Regions from separate parts of the Homo sapiens genome. Here regions 2 and 3 are each linked to region 1. Evidence: promoter capture Hi-C in 16 types of primary human blood cells and fetal thymus (Javierre and others, 2016). All regions are on one chromosome and are shown on one strand. The core of a region is centred on a gene start or on the middle of the fragment in contact, and the rest is flanking DNA. Distances in the headings are between cores, read along the strand shown.

Region 1 (4,020 bases), core at 493-2,992:
CTCCCTATCAAACAATTTCCATAGGGTAGAATTTACATTAATCACTAATACTACCTCTAATGCCACTTGACTGTTGCTTATTGTTTGTTTAGTCTTTCCAAAGTGCTTTTGCACTTTCACTCCTGACACATGCTTCAAGGAGCCAGGCACAAACAAAACCATGCATGCGATGGCATCGCATTGCCTCTACAAAGGGCATTAATCATAAGGGTCAACGTGCAAATTCAAATAGGAGTAGAAACTCAAAACAGTTTGTAGGAAGGTAAGTATTTCAATTAAAAAACAAAGGAAAAATTCAAAAAGAATTACAGAAATGATCCTGTACTTTTTTAGGACTGAAATTCACTGCTATTAGAACGCATTATTCTAAGCACGAACATTCTGGTAATAAACAGTGGTGGCGCCCAGGGGCAACTCCATCAGCCTCTCTGAAAGCTACCCTAAAGAACTGTGAAACTGCGTCTGCTATGCAAATACAGCTTCAAGACAAATGCTTTAACTTTCCACCCCCTTCCATTCCGGTTGCAGCCCCCTAAGCCCTTTCTATACAGAGATTCTGGAACTGTCACAACCCTTTCTGATGAAACGACCTCCCCCCACTCTACAATAAAAAGTCAGTAATGGGCACTGAGCAGTTGCTTAGCATTTCATAATACAAATCTCTCCTATCAAACGTTAAGTTTGGAAGGAAAGGAAGAAAGAAAGTACAGGATCAGGAGGCAGCTTTACCCTGTTGACACCTTATCAGAGCTCTAAAGGCTCTGGTCCAGCAGTTCTCAAATTTCAGAGGTTCTTAGACTCTCAACTCCACTCAGTGACTGGGATTCACTAGTTCTGCTGTGAATGAATTTTAAACAAAGCAGTTAATCTGGATGCAGGTGGTCCTCAAGCCACAGTTTCAGAAAAACAGTCTCTTACCTCTCAGATGATATCTAAAAAGAGTTTTCTCTCACTCCGAGGAAAACGGATATAATAGTTCATGAAATTTACATAAGTTTCTTCTGGGCCAGGCAAATATCCTCGAATAATTATTTCTTCTTTAGCGTAGTAAGAATGGCTGAGTGCGATAGTAAGAATGACTGTGTACATATCTCAGAGGTCGCATGTGGCACTCGAGGTAACAATAACAGCACCATCTTCACTTTATCCCTCTGTCTCGCGGAGATGTGCAGGCGTGGCCCCCAAGCCCATTCCAGACGACACGTTTCCTTAGGCCTGCAAAATATTATGGGAAAATGTACTTGTCAACATTTAAAGGTGGAGAGATTGCATGTAAAACCTGGACTGCCAGCTTCTGCGGAAAAATGAGGTAAGTCTGGCAACCCTGGCGCCTGCTCCAGCCCGGAATCGTCTGCTCTCTTATCTCCCTCCGTTCACTGAACTGCAGACCTCTGGTTGCCAGACGTCCCCTCGGAACAAAACACATACTCCACTCAGGCTAAGGGCTCCGCTGTTGGGTTGGGAAGATCACGCCAGACCCTCTCCTTCCCTTCCTGGAAGACCCGAATCCCGAGAGGAGGGTCGGAGGTGACGCGCAGGTCGACCCCCAAGGGAACCCACCCATTAGCCTCCGCACAGCCCGCTCCTCTCACCTTCCGAGAAGGGACTCTCCTCCTCCCCTTGAGCGGAGCCGATTGCGGTTGGAGAAACCCGCTCCGACGCCCCTAACTCACTGTGGCCAGAGCACCCACGGCCGGCAACGCAGAACACGGGTAACTTGCCTACACAGCGCGCGAAAGGCTGACCTTTCAATTTGCGCGGGTTCCTTGCGGCCCCGCCCAGAGGATGTGACGTCAACGCGTATCCCGCAACCCGGTTCCGCCTCCTGCGGCTTCCAACTCATAGGGTTGCGTCCTGAGCTCTCCGTCTCGCTGGGTAGACAGCGGCTCACTGCCATACGACTGCAGCCGCTGCTGCCGGCCCGAACTCCGTGCGGCTTCTTGAGGGCGCGAGTGGCACTGGCGCTGATGGCCGATGGTGAGCACCGCCTCGGAAGTTGGGAGTGTTTACACCCGCCGGGGCTGCTGGGCGTTGTAGTTCCCTCCTGGCTGCAGCCCCAGTTCTGGAGGCTGATGTTGAAAGAGCGCCGTCGCGCGTTGATGTTGAGGCTTTTCAAACCTGAAAAAGTTGCTCAGTCCCCCTCGGCGTCATCAGTCCCATCCTAATTCCTTCATTCTCTTTAAAACGCCCGGTTGCCTCTACAAATCGAAATTGAATTCAGTTCACGCTGGGTTCTTTTCCCCATTGCAGTAGTAGTAGTGATTAAAATCTGCCCCTACCATTTTACCTAGAACCCAGCTTCGTTTATTTTTGACATAAGTCGGGGAAAAATTAGCTATATAACAAGACCTTGAAAATGGGCCTTAGAGACAAAGACTTTAGAGGCATTTTGGACTTTCATGGTCACTTGTGGCTAGGTTTCCAATCCTCATAACACCCCAGACCTCGTCGCTGTCCTCTTAGGGATATTGTAATTTAAAAAATTGGAAGAAACCTTAGGCCAGACCACAAAGTAATGTTCTGGGCTCAAAGATCAATAGGAATGATAATGCAGACTCAATTCAAGGAATTGAAGGGGAAGAAGTGAGCACATTGTTAAACATGCTCCCCATTTGATTACGTTCTTTACATCTTTTCCTCTTTTAAAGTCTTTTTATGATCACTCTAACATCTATCATGCCAATTTTAAAGGCATCTATGATGCCTTAAATTTGTTACTAAAATTGTTGAAAAGGTGCCACATTTGGGGAATGTGTTTGGAAAAGCTGTGTTGCTTTCTCCCTGGTTCTGGTCTTTAGAGCTGGGACTAGGAGAGATGAGAAAAGTTATCTTCCCTCCCTCTTCCAAAGGCTATGGTAGACCTAACCCTAAACTAGCTTGGAGTGGACTCTTGGAGAAAGTGGGGGACAATTTCAAACTGCAGTAGATTAAAGAGGAACTTCGATGTGGGCAGCATGTGTTTGTAGAGAAGCCTTCTTACACTCATTGGACTATCCAGCTGTAGTAACTGCTTCAGTACCTAGAATCCAACCATGAATATATCACACATGGGGGTCTTAGGAAGGAACCCCAAAATCAAAAAGGTGTCCATTCCAGTGTCACTGGATCTGTCATAAAACTAACATGAGAGTTTGCTGCACTGTGAACGGCTCATGTATTTACTGTGAATTTGACTCCCAAGGTTTCAAACTGTATTCTTGGCTGCAGTGTTCAAAGACTAAAATTGGAAAAGAAAACACTAGTTACAATACATTTCACTAACAGAATATTTTTACTCTTTGGGAGGACAAAACCATTTGCATCAATGTGTGCAGTAATTTACTACTGCCTTAAGTGTGCCTGTCAGTTCCAGGTGGCATGGAGGCATAAAGAGATGTCCTGTGTCTTCAAGGAACTTAAGATCTAGTTCTGTAGACAAAACACATGTTTATGAGACAGTTAAGTCACAAATCATGATGGCATGTTATTAAATGCTGAAATAAATGGTATATCCCATATGTTTCCAGCTTAAGACTCAGTTCCAATGTTACCAGTTTCCAAATGTCTTCCCTAAGTTAGATATTTGTTTGATATGCACAAGCATTCTGTGATGGCTCTTTGGTCCTGACACTTCTCATATTCTCATTGTGTTTGAATTGTCTTTGCCCTTCAATAGACTGAAAACCTTTTGAGGTAGGGTTGCCAGATTTAGCAAATAATAACGTAGGACACCCAGAAATTTGAATTTCAGATGAACAACAGATAAATTTTTAATATATCTAATGCAATATTTGAGACATATACTAAAAGAAATCCCTGTTTATCTGAAATTTAAATTTATCTTGGCATTCTGTAATTTTATCTGGCAACCTTACTTTGAGGGCAGGGATTATGTCTATGAATTTTCACATCCCAGTAGCACTAGTGTTGATTTTAAACATTTCAAATGTGTGGACTAATACATGAATGTCCTAGGTATGGCACTATTATTATGGGTTTTCTGGGCTGCTCTTATCTTTATTTTTTTATTTTTTATTTTTA
Region 2 (4,187 bases), core at 1,410-3,909, 290 kb after region 1:
TAGACTTAGTAAGGGATACATGGTGTGTGACTGGATCAACTACGCAAACCACAAATTTAATTTGTAATCCAGTGGCTTTTCCATGAACACGTAGGCTTTTTTTAGTTACACAAATTCACAACTTCAGGGTTCTATTTACACCTTTCTCTTTCTCAACTTTCTATATCCCCTATCTCTCGATTTGTTCTCTTACAAATATCATGAATCTACACTCTACTCTCCAGCCACATTACTATAGCTTTATTCTTGGGCCCTTCTGTGCCCAGAGATTATGGAAATGCCTTGAAGATTGCAACCCTTTCTCAGTCTTCACACTATGGCTTTTCATCTCTCTAAAAGACAAATCTTTATTATTATTATTATTATTATTATTTTATTGGGACTGAGTCTCGCTCTGTCAGCCAGGCTGGAGGGCAGTGGCATGATCTCGGCTCACTGCAACCTCCGCCTCCTGGGTTCAAGCAATTCTCCTGCCTCAGCCTCCCGAGTAGCTGGGATTACCGGCATGTGCCACCACGCTCAGCTAATTTTTTTTTTCTTTTTGTATTTTTAGTAGATACAGGGTTTCACCATATTGGCCAGGCTGGTCTCAAACTCCTGACCTTGTGATCCGCCTGCCTCGGCCTCCCAATGTGCTGGGATTACAGGCGTGAGCCACCACGCCTGGCCCAAAAGGCAAATCTAATTGTGTCACTTTGCAAATTGTTTGAGTTTATCTGTCGTTCCATTAGAGTGTGAGTTCTTCATCAGCGTGAACACTCATTCACTCAGTGCCTAGGAGACCATAGGGATTCAGTATATGTTGAACAAATGATTTCAATTCAGAGAATTGTCAGTGAAGTGGGTGCTAGCACCTGTAATCCCAGCTACTCTGGAGTCTGAGGTGGGAGAATCACTTGAGCCAGGAGTTCAAGACCAACCTGGACAACATAGAAAGACTCTGCCTTTAAAAAAAATGTAAAAAAATTGGTCGTATGTGGTAGCATGTGCCTGTAGTCCCAGCTTCTCGGGTGGCCAAGGTGGGAAGATAGCTTGAGCACAGGATTTCGAAGTTACAGTGAGCCATGATTGCACCATGGCACATCAGTCTGGGTGACAGCAAGACTTCGTCTCTAAAAACTTTAGGCAATTGATATTTTCAAGAAGGACTTCATTTATTTATTTCTTTTTTTGAGACAGGGTCTCACTCTGTTGCCCAGGCTGGGAGTGCAGTGGCACAATCACATCACTCATATCTCACTGTAGCCTCGACCTCCCTGGCTCAAGTGATCCTTCCACCTCAGGCTCTTGAGTAGCTGGGACTATAGGTACACGCTTCTACACCCAGCTAATTTTTTATTCTTTGTAGTGATAGCGTCTCTCCATGTTGCCCAGGCGGGTCTCAAATTCCTGGACTCAAGCGATCCTGGCCTCAGCCTTTCAGAGTGCTGGGATTACAGGCATGAGCTATCAGACCTAGCTTCAAGAAGGACTTTGTAGTGTACATAGTCTTGCTCTTCATAACCCATAAAAAGGAGCAGCAAACAAATCCAATAAATCATATGACAAGATTAGTGTCATGTGCTTTACTCAAAATGACAACTGATGAATCAAACATTAGACTTACCAGTCAATAGATCCTTGTTTAGATTTTCTCTGCTTACAGAAAGAATATACTGCAAGAAAAGTAGAGTAGATACTGTTTGTTTCTGGTGAATGGACAAATATAATTCTAAGTTATTCACTCAGCAATAAAACATATTTATTATTTAGCAGAGGGTTGCAAGCTTAGTTTTATAACCATTTCGCTAAGTGACCTTTGATTTTTTTGTTAAAAAAGATCACTTTAAACAAACACATATAATACAATATCCAAGTTTACACTTAGGCTTTTTCAAAGTTTAATACTTTAAAAATCAAATCCTTCTCTTGTAGCTAAAATATAATTTTCATCAAGAGAGTTCTGTTTTAAAAACAAATCATAAATGTAATATTTTCAGCTTAGGTCTCCAAATTTAGCTCTTAGAAAAACTTCAGTCATGACAGTATCACTAGAATCAAAGTGCTATTTCCTGAAGAGACAACTTTGAAGGATTTCATTTCAATGTAAAAAGTGTGTGTGTGTGCACGCGTGTGTGTGTGTGTTGGTTGTGGCAGGGATGAAGATTGATAGGAATAGGACCAGTCCTTGCATGGAACATGTGTTGGTTGTTTCTGACTTTATAGGACAATTCAGCAAAGCTGACCCTCCCTTGAGGCAAGGTAGACACAGCGCCTATGGGCGTACAATACTTTTTTTTTTTTTTGAAACAGAGTCTTGCTCTGTTGCCCAGGTTGGAGTGCAATGGTGAGATCTCAGCTCACTGCAACCTCCACCTTCCAGGTTCAAGTGATTCTCCTGCCTCAGCTTCCCAACTAGCTGGGATTACAGGTGCCTGCCACCACACTCAGCTAATTTTTTTTTTTTTTTTGTATTTTTAGTAGAAATGGGGTTTTGCCATGTTGGCCAGCCTGGTCTCGAACTTCTAACCTCAGGTGATCCACCGACCTTGGCCACCCAAAGTGCTGGGATTACAGGGATGAGCCACAGCGCCCGGCCACTTTTTTCCTCCTGACTTAAAAATAAACTAAAATCAAAACATTTTTATGGACTCTTAAACGTATTGTAAAAATGTTTTGATTTTAGTTTATTTTTAAATCAGGAGGAAAAAAGTGGCCAGGCATGGTGGCTTATCCCTGTAATCCCAGCACTTTGTGAGGCTGAGGCAAGCTGATCACTTGAGGTCAGGAGTTTAAGACCAGCCTGGCCAACATGGCGAAACCCCGTCTCTACTAAAAATACAAAAACAAGCCGGGTCTGGTGGCGCGTGCCTGTAGTCACAGGAAGCTGAGGCAGGACTGCTTGAACCCGAGAGGCCTAAGTTGCAGTGAGCCGAGATCACATTACTGCACTTCAGCCTGGATGACAGAGTGAGTGAGACTCTGTCTAGAAAGAAAGAAGGGAGGAAGGAAGGAAGGAAGGAAGGAAGGAAGGAAGGAAGGAAGGAAGGAAGGAAGGAAAGAAAAGTATTATGTAATAAAAAATATGTAATAATAAATCTGGCCTGGATTTTATTAATCTTTATACCAATGAACCCATAAAATCTAATTTTTAATATTTATCCTTTTTCTAGAAAAGGAGCCCATGGAGGCCAAAGTGCCCACCTGGGGCCCATTAAAGTCATAATGCAAGCTGGTAATTCAGGGTGAATCTATTCTTTAAAACTTTAAAGCATATAATTTTCCAAATTATGGGACATAACAAATATTTTTAACACATATACACTAATTTATAAATCTTCACCTCATCCAAAAGTAGAAGTATACATTGGCAGCTAAATCTATACTTGGTGTAAAAATAACTTGGTCAGTGGCAATGACTGAAGAGGAAATTCTGGTCTTTGTATAATTTAAAATGAACAGAAACATCTTCATTCTCTGCCTCAAAGCTAGGTTATTAATAGACTGTATTTCAACAGAAATCAAACTTGCTATTTAAATTATGTTAGGAAACATTCAAATTATAAAGCTTTTTTAATTTTTAATTTTTTAAAAAATTTTTGAGACAGGGTCTTGCTGTTCCCCAGGCTGGAGTGTAGTGGTGTGATCATGGCTCACTGCAGCCTCAACCTCCCGGGCTCAAGCGATCTTCCCACCTTAAGTCTCCCAAGTTGCTGGGAGTACAGGCCCATGCCACCATGCCCGGCTAATTTTTAAATTTTTTTATAGAAACAGGGTCTTGCCATGTTGCCCAGGCTGGTTTTGAACTCCTGGGCTCAAGCAATCCACCTACCTTGGCCTCCCAAAGTTCTGGGATTACAGGTGTCAGCCACTGTGCTTGGCCCAAATTATGAAGATTAATTTACATGGGGAAAATATTTTCTTTCCACATCAGTCATCTGGGAACTGATAGACTTGTCATCCCTGCAGGAACACCAGAATGTCCCTTTCTAGTCTACTCCATATCTTTGGACAGTATTATATCATAACCAAATATTTGAGTCGTTCCCATCAAGTCTTACTTCTCCAATATTTAATTCTACAAGATTGATCTGATGAAGAATAAATAAGAATAAACAAGTCAAGCGCTATAAAGTGGCCTCTGTAACCAAAAAGATAATAGTAAAACCTAAAAAAGGTTAGATATATCCTTTGGAGATCTGTAAGAC
Region 3 (3,201 bases), core at 105-2,604, 350 kb after region 1:
TCCTTGAAACATTCTTCATCCCTGCTTTCTTGAACATTTTTTCACCAGTTCTTCTTCTGCCCCCTGTCAGACTTCGTTTCATTGTCTGGCTTTACCTTTCCACATACTTGAAAACATTGTGTCCACCCAAACCGTTCTTTTTCTTTCGTCTTTACGAAGATCGATAGATGCATCGCGCCATTTCTCATCAGTTTCCTCAGCTGCAGATAGTGGAGCTGTTGCCATAATTTAGAGTCCTTCATTTGGACAAAGTGTTATAGCTAAAGTAGAGTAGGGGCTTACTTTCTCTTGGAATCTCTTCTAAATTCTAATTTTAATTTTATAAGAATATGCAAATGACAAATATGGAGTATATTTAATATATTCACTAAATATTTATTGAGTACCATTTTCTATCAGGCACTGTACTGGATGCATAATAGAGATAGAGCAATGAAAAGACAGATTTCTTGCTCTCATGGAATGTATATCCTAGTGGTAAATAAAAACACAGGCCAGAGCAGAACTCAGACTGTTAAAATTTTGCTCTCAGGTCAGATTCCAAACAGTTAACACGAGATACCCAGCATTTATAGGTGCATAACAATAAATGCCTTGTTAATCTTTTTAAAATTTTATTTTTAATGTAAAATAAAGATAATCAATATTTGCCTTATTACAAGGTCATTAGTAGCAAATTAAAACTTAGATTATATGTCTTAGAGTCCATTGTTGGAAGTCTAGTTTTCAGACCGGAGTTTTAGACCAGAGGATATTAGGATTTGGATATATCTTAATAAATATTGGAAATGTTGCCAACAAAGCCAAAACAAACTAATTGATTTTATACTGTTTTTTAATATTATATGAAAAGTTATTTTACAGTGACTGGAGTATTCGTTAAAGCATAGAAAACCTAGAAATTTGGTGATCATTAGATTTTGCCCTGACTTTACTAATTGCCTCACACTCATACTGAACTTTCGAACCTCTGCATCTTTGCTCCTCTTCCTTCTGCGTGGAAGATTCTTTTTCCTTCTCTGGCCAAGTCCTCTCCATAAAATAGGATTTCACCAGTTCCGACAACTGGAGTTAATTTCTCTTTCTCTATGGTCTCTAACACTTCAGACCTCTGTTTTAAATACTTGCTATGGGCTATTTTGTGTTTTAGTCATTTGTATTTATGTCTTTTTCACCTTTTTTAGATTTCTGTGCCTTCAAATGTTCATGCTTTCTTTCACATTTGTTTCCTTGGTTATAGTGCCTTAAAATTTGTAGAAGATCTATATGTTTATTGAATTGTATATTTACTGTCAACCAGAAAATAATATGTTATTGGACAAAAAACATGTTGCCTTAGTAATGTCTCTCTCTCTCTCTCTCTCTCTCTCTCTCTCTCTCTCACTCACTCAAAGATTAAAAATGTGTTACACTCAGCCAGGCTGCTGGGGGATGCTTCAGTTTCCTTTACAGAAAACTGCGTGGTGGGAATCCAGGCCAATACAGAAAGGATCAACAAGCTGATGAATGAGTCTCTAATGTTGGTGACAGCTCTCAATCCTCATATAGGTAAGTGTTTAAGGAATAATAATATCATTTTGAATGCAAAATTAAAAAGCTAAACCATTTTTAAGAGACAAGTGGATCAGTGTTTGAGAACAGCAAATTTCTTTTGAATATGGTTTTAGTAAAATCTCAAAATATTTGAAATTGTGTGGAAAGGTACTATATAACTTGTATGGTGTCATAGTTCTTTCAAAACTAGATCTATTATGCCTCATTTTATTTGAAATGTATCGAGAAGTAGTAGTTCAAACTTATTTTGATTTTAATGGAATTCAGACGCCAAATATTCTATGCAGACCATTGGGGAAGGTTATTTGTAAGACCTTCAGTGGGTAATGTCACTAGGTGGCACTGCTGATTAGCAACATTGAATGAACTCATTTTTCTACCTTCCCTAGATCTCTACAATGCTTTAATTTTGTTGTTTTATTCAATTCAGAAATGGAAAGTTACAATTAAAAGAAAAAGTTTATGTATTCATTGCTTATAGTGAAAGGGAGGAAGGAAAATGCAAATATTTTGTCTAAAACCATGCTATTGTATTATAAGTCTTTTTTGGAACTGTAAATATTTCATTATGTAGAATCAAACATACAGATTTGGGTAGTAGACTGACCATAGAGATCTCCATTAAATAAACTGTTTACACTTTTGTAGATTTTGAGGCATTATGTTGCATTATATTATGATGTGTTAAAAGCCTTTTACCCATTCTTCCTTTCTGCTAAGCAGAGGTTAATATATTTTCTGCCTTTCTGTTATAGAACAAGTTATGATTCACTTATTTGGCATAATATGGCTACTGCTTCTTCTATAATCTTGAACTTTCAAGGCAAATTTTATATTCCTGGTTTCACATCAAGCTATAATTACAGTTTTTTAAAATTAGAGCTCATTTGACTCTTTTAGGTAGCTCTGAGCCCAGTATGATATCAGTTTTTTGGTGTGGCATTGAGATTGGTAATAATGTTTGATCCATTTAAAATTATGGTACATCAACTACATCTGGAAAAACACAAAGGGGAACCCAGAGGCTCGTGTGAGCAGTTTTCATCAGATCTTTACTTCAGAATGTGTTACCAAAACTTTAAATTAGAGGTGTCTCCTAAAGTTGAATGATTGGCAAATCTTTATTGGAATCAACTTATTGTGACATAAAAAGAATTGTTAGAGGCCATATGAGAATGAGATGGGTCAACACCACCTCACTAGTTGACTTGGTGTGAGCCTTACAACCCTCTGAATCATGGGTTCCCTATATTCTCATTATGTACCAGGCTGGTTGCCAATAGTGTCTTGTTGGACTTGACAGCTGAAATGCTTAGACTTTAAAGCCATTATTAAAATAAAAGTACTGGATATATATTGATCTCAAGAGTTTAACATGCAAATTCTTTCTCAAAGCATTTCTGCTTTAAGAAAGATGCCCTTTTCAGTAAATGGCATCAATAAATGCCCTTTCAGATCAATAAATGCCCTTTTCAACATATTTAGCATTCACAAATTCAGTTAAGTAATAAAAGTAACTATGCCCATGCTTTCTTTTATAGCTGATTAATAATTGCATATTGACACATGCCATCTTATTGATGATGTATACTGCCTCAGCAAGCTTCTTCCTTTTGGTCATATTTCTCTGATCTTGTTTTTTTTCTC

The links. Contacts are between HindIII fragments. The CHiCAGO score rates a contact against its expected background, and 5 or more counts as called.
Region 2: a fragment that was not itself captured here is called in contact with the fragment with the promoter of EXO1 in region 1 in 7 of 17 cell types (activated CD4 T cells, naive B cells, non-activated CD4 T cells and 4 more); the score reaches 8.7 in activated CD4 T cells.
Region 3: a fragment that was not itself captured here is called in contact with the fragment with the promoter of EXO1 in region 1 in 2 of 17 cell types (neutrophils and monocytes); the score reaches 5.9 in neutrophils.

The regions. Positions count from the first base shown.
Region 1 is chr1:241,845,926-241,849,945 of GRCh38, reverse strand. EXO1 (exonuclease 1) reads right to left here and starts at 1,742. Exons shown (of 16, transcript NM_130398.4): 1 at 1,593-1,742; 2 at 919-1,215; 3 at 730-834. RefSeq lists an enhancer at 1,707-2,046. The HindIII fragment of the contact is 5,044 bases long and covers 1-4,020 here.
Region 2 is chr1:241,553,080-241,557,266 of GRCh38, reverse strand. KMO (kynurenine 3-monooxygenase) reads right to left here. Exons shown (of 15, transcript NM_003679.5): 5 at 1,607-1,655. Among named protein-coding and RNA genes, the nearest start is that of KMO, 23 kb to the right of the region's middle. The HindIII fragment of the contact is 1,781 bases long and covers 1,769-3,549 here.
Region 3 is chr1:241,498,784-241,501,984 of GRCh38, reverse strand. It overlaps FH (fumarate hydratase), which reads left to right. Exons shown (of 10, transcript NM_000143.4): 9 at 1,395-1,548. Among named protein-coding and RNA genes, the nearest start is that of FH, 19 kb to the left of the region's middle. The HindIII fragment of the contact is 3,610 bases long and covers 1-3,159 here.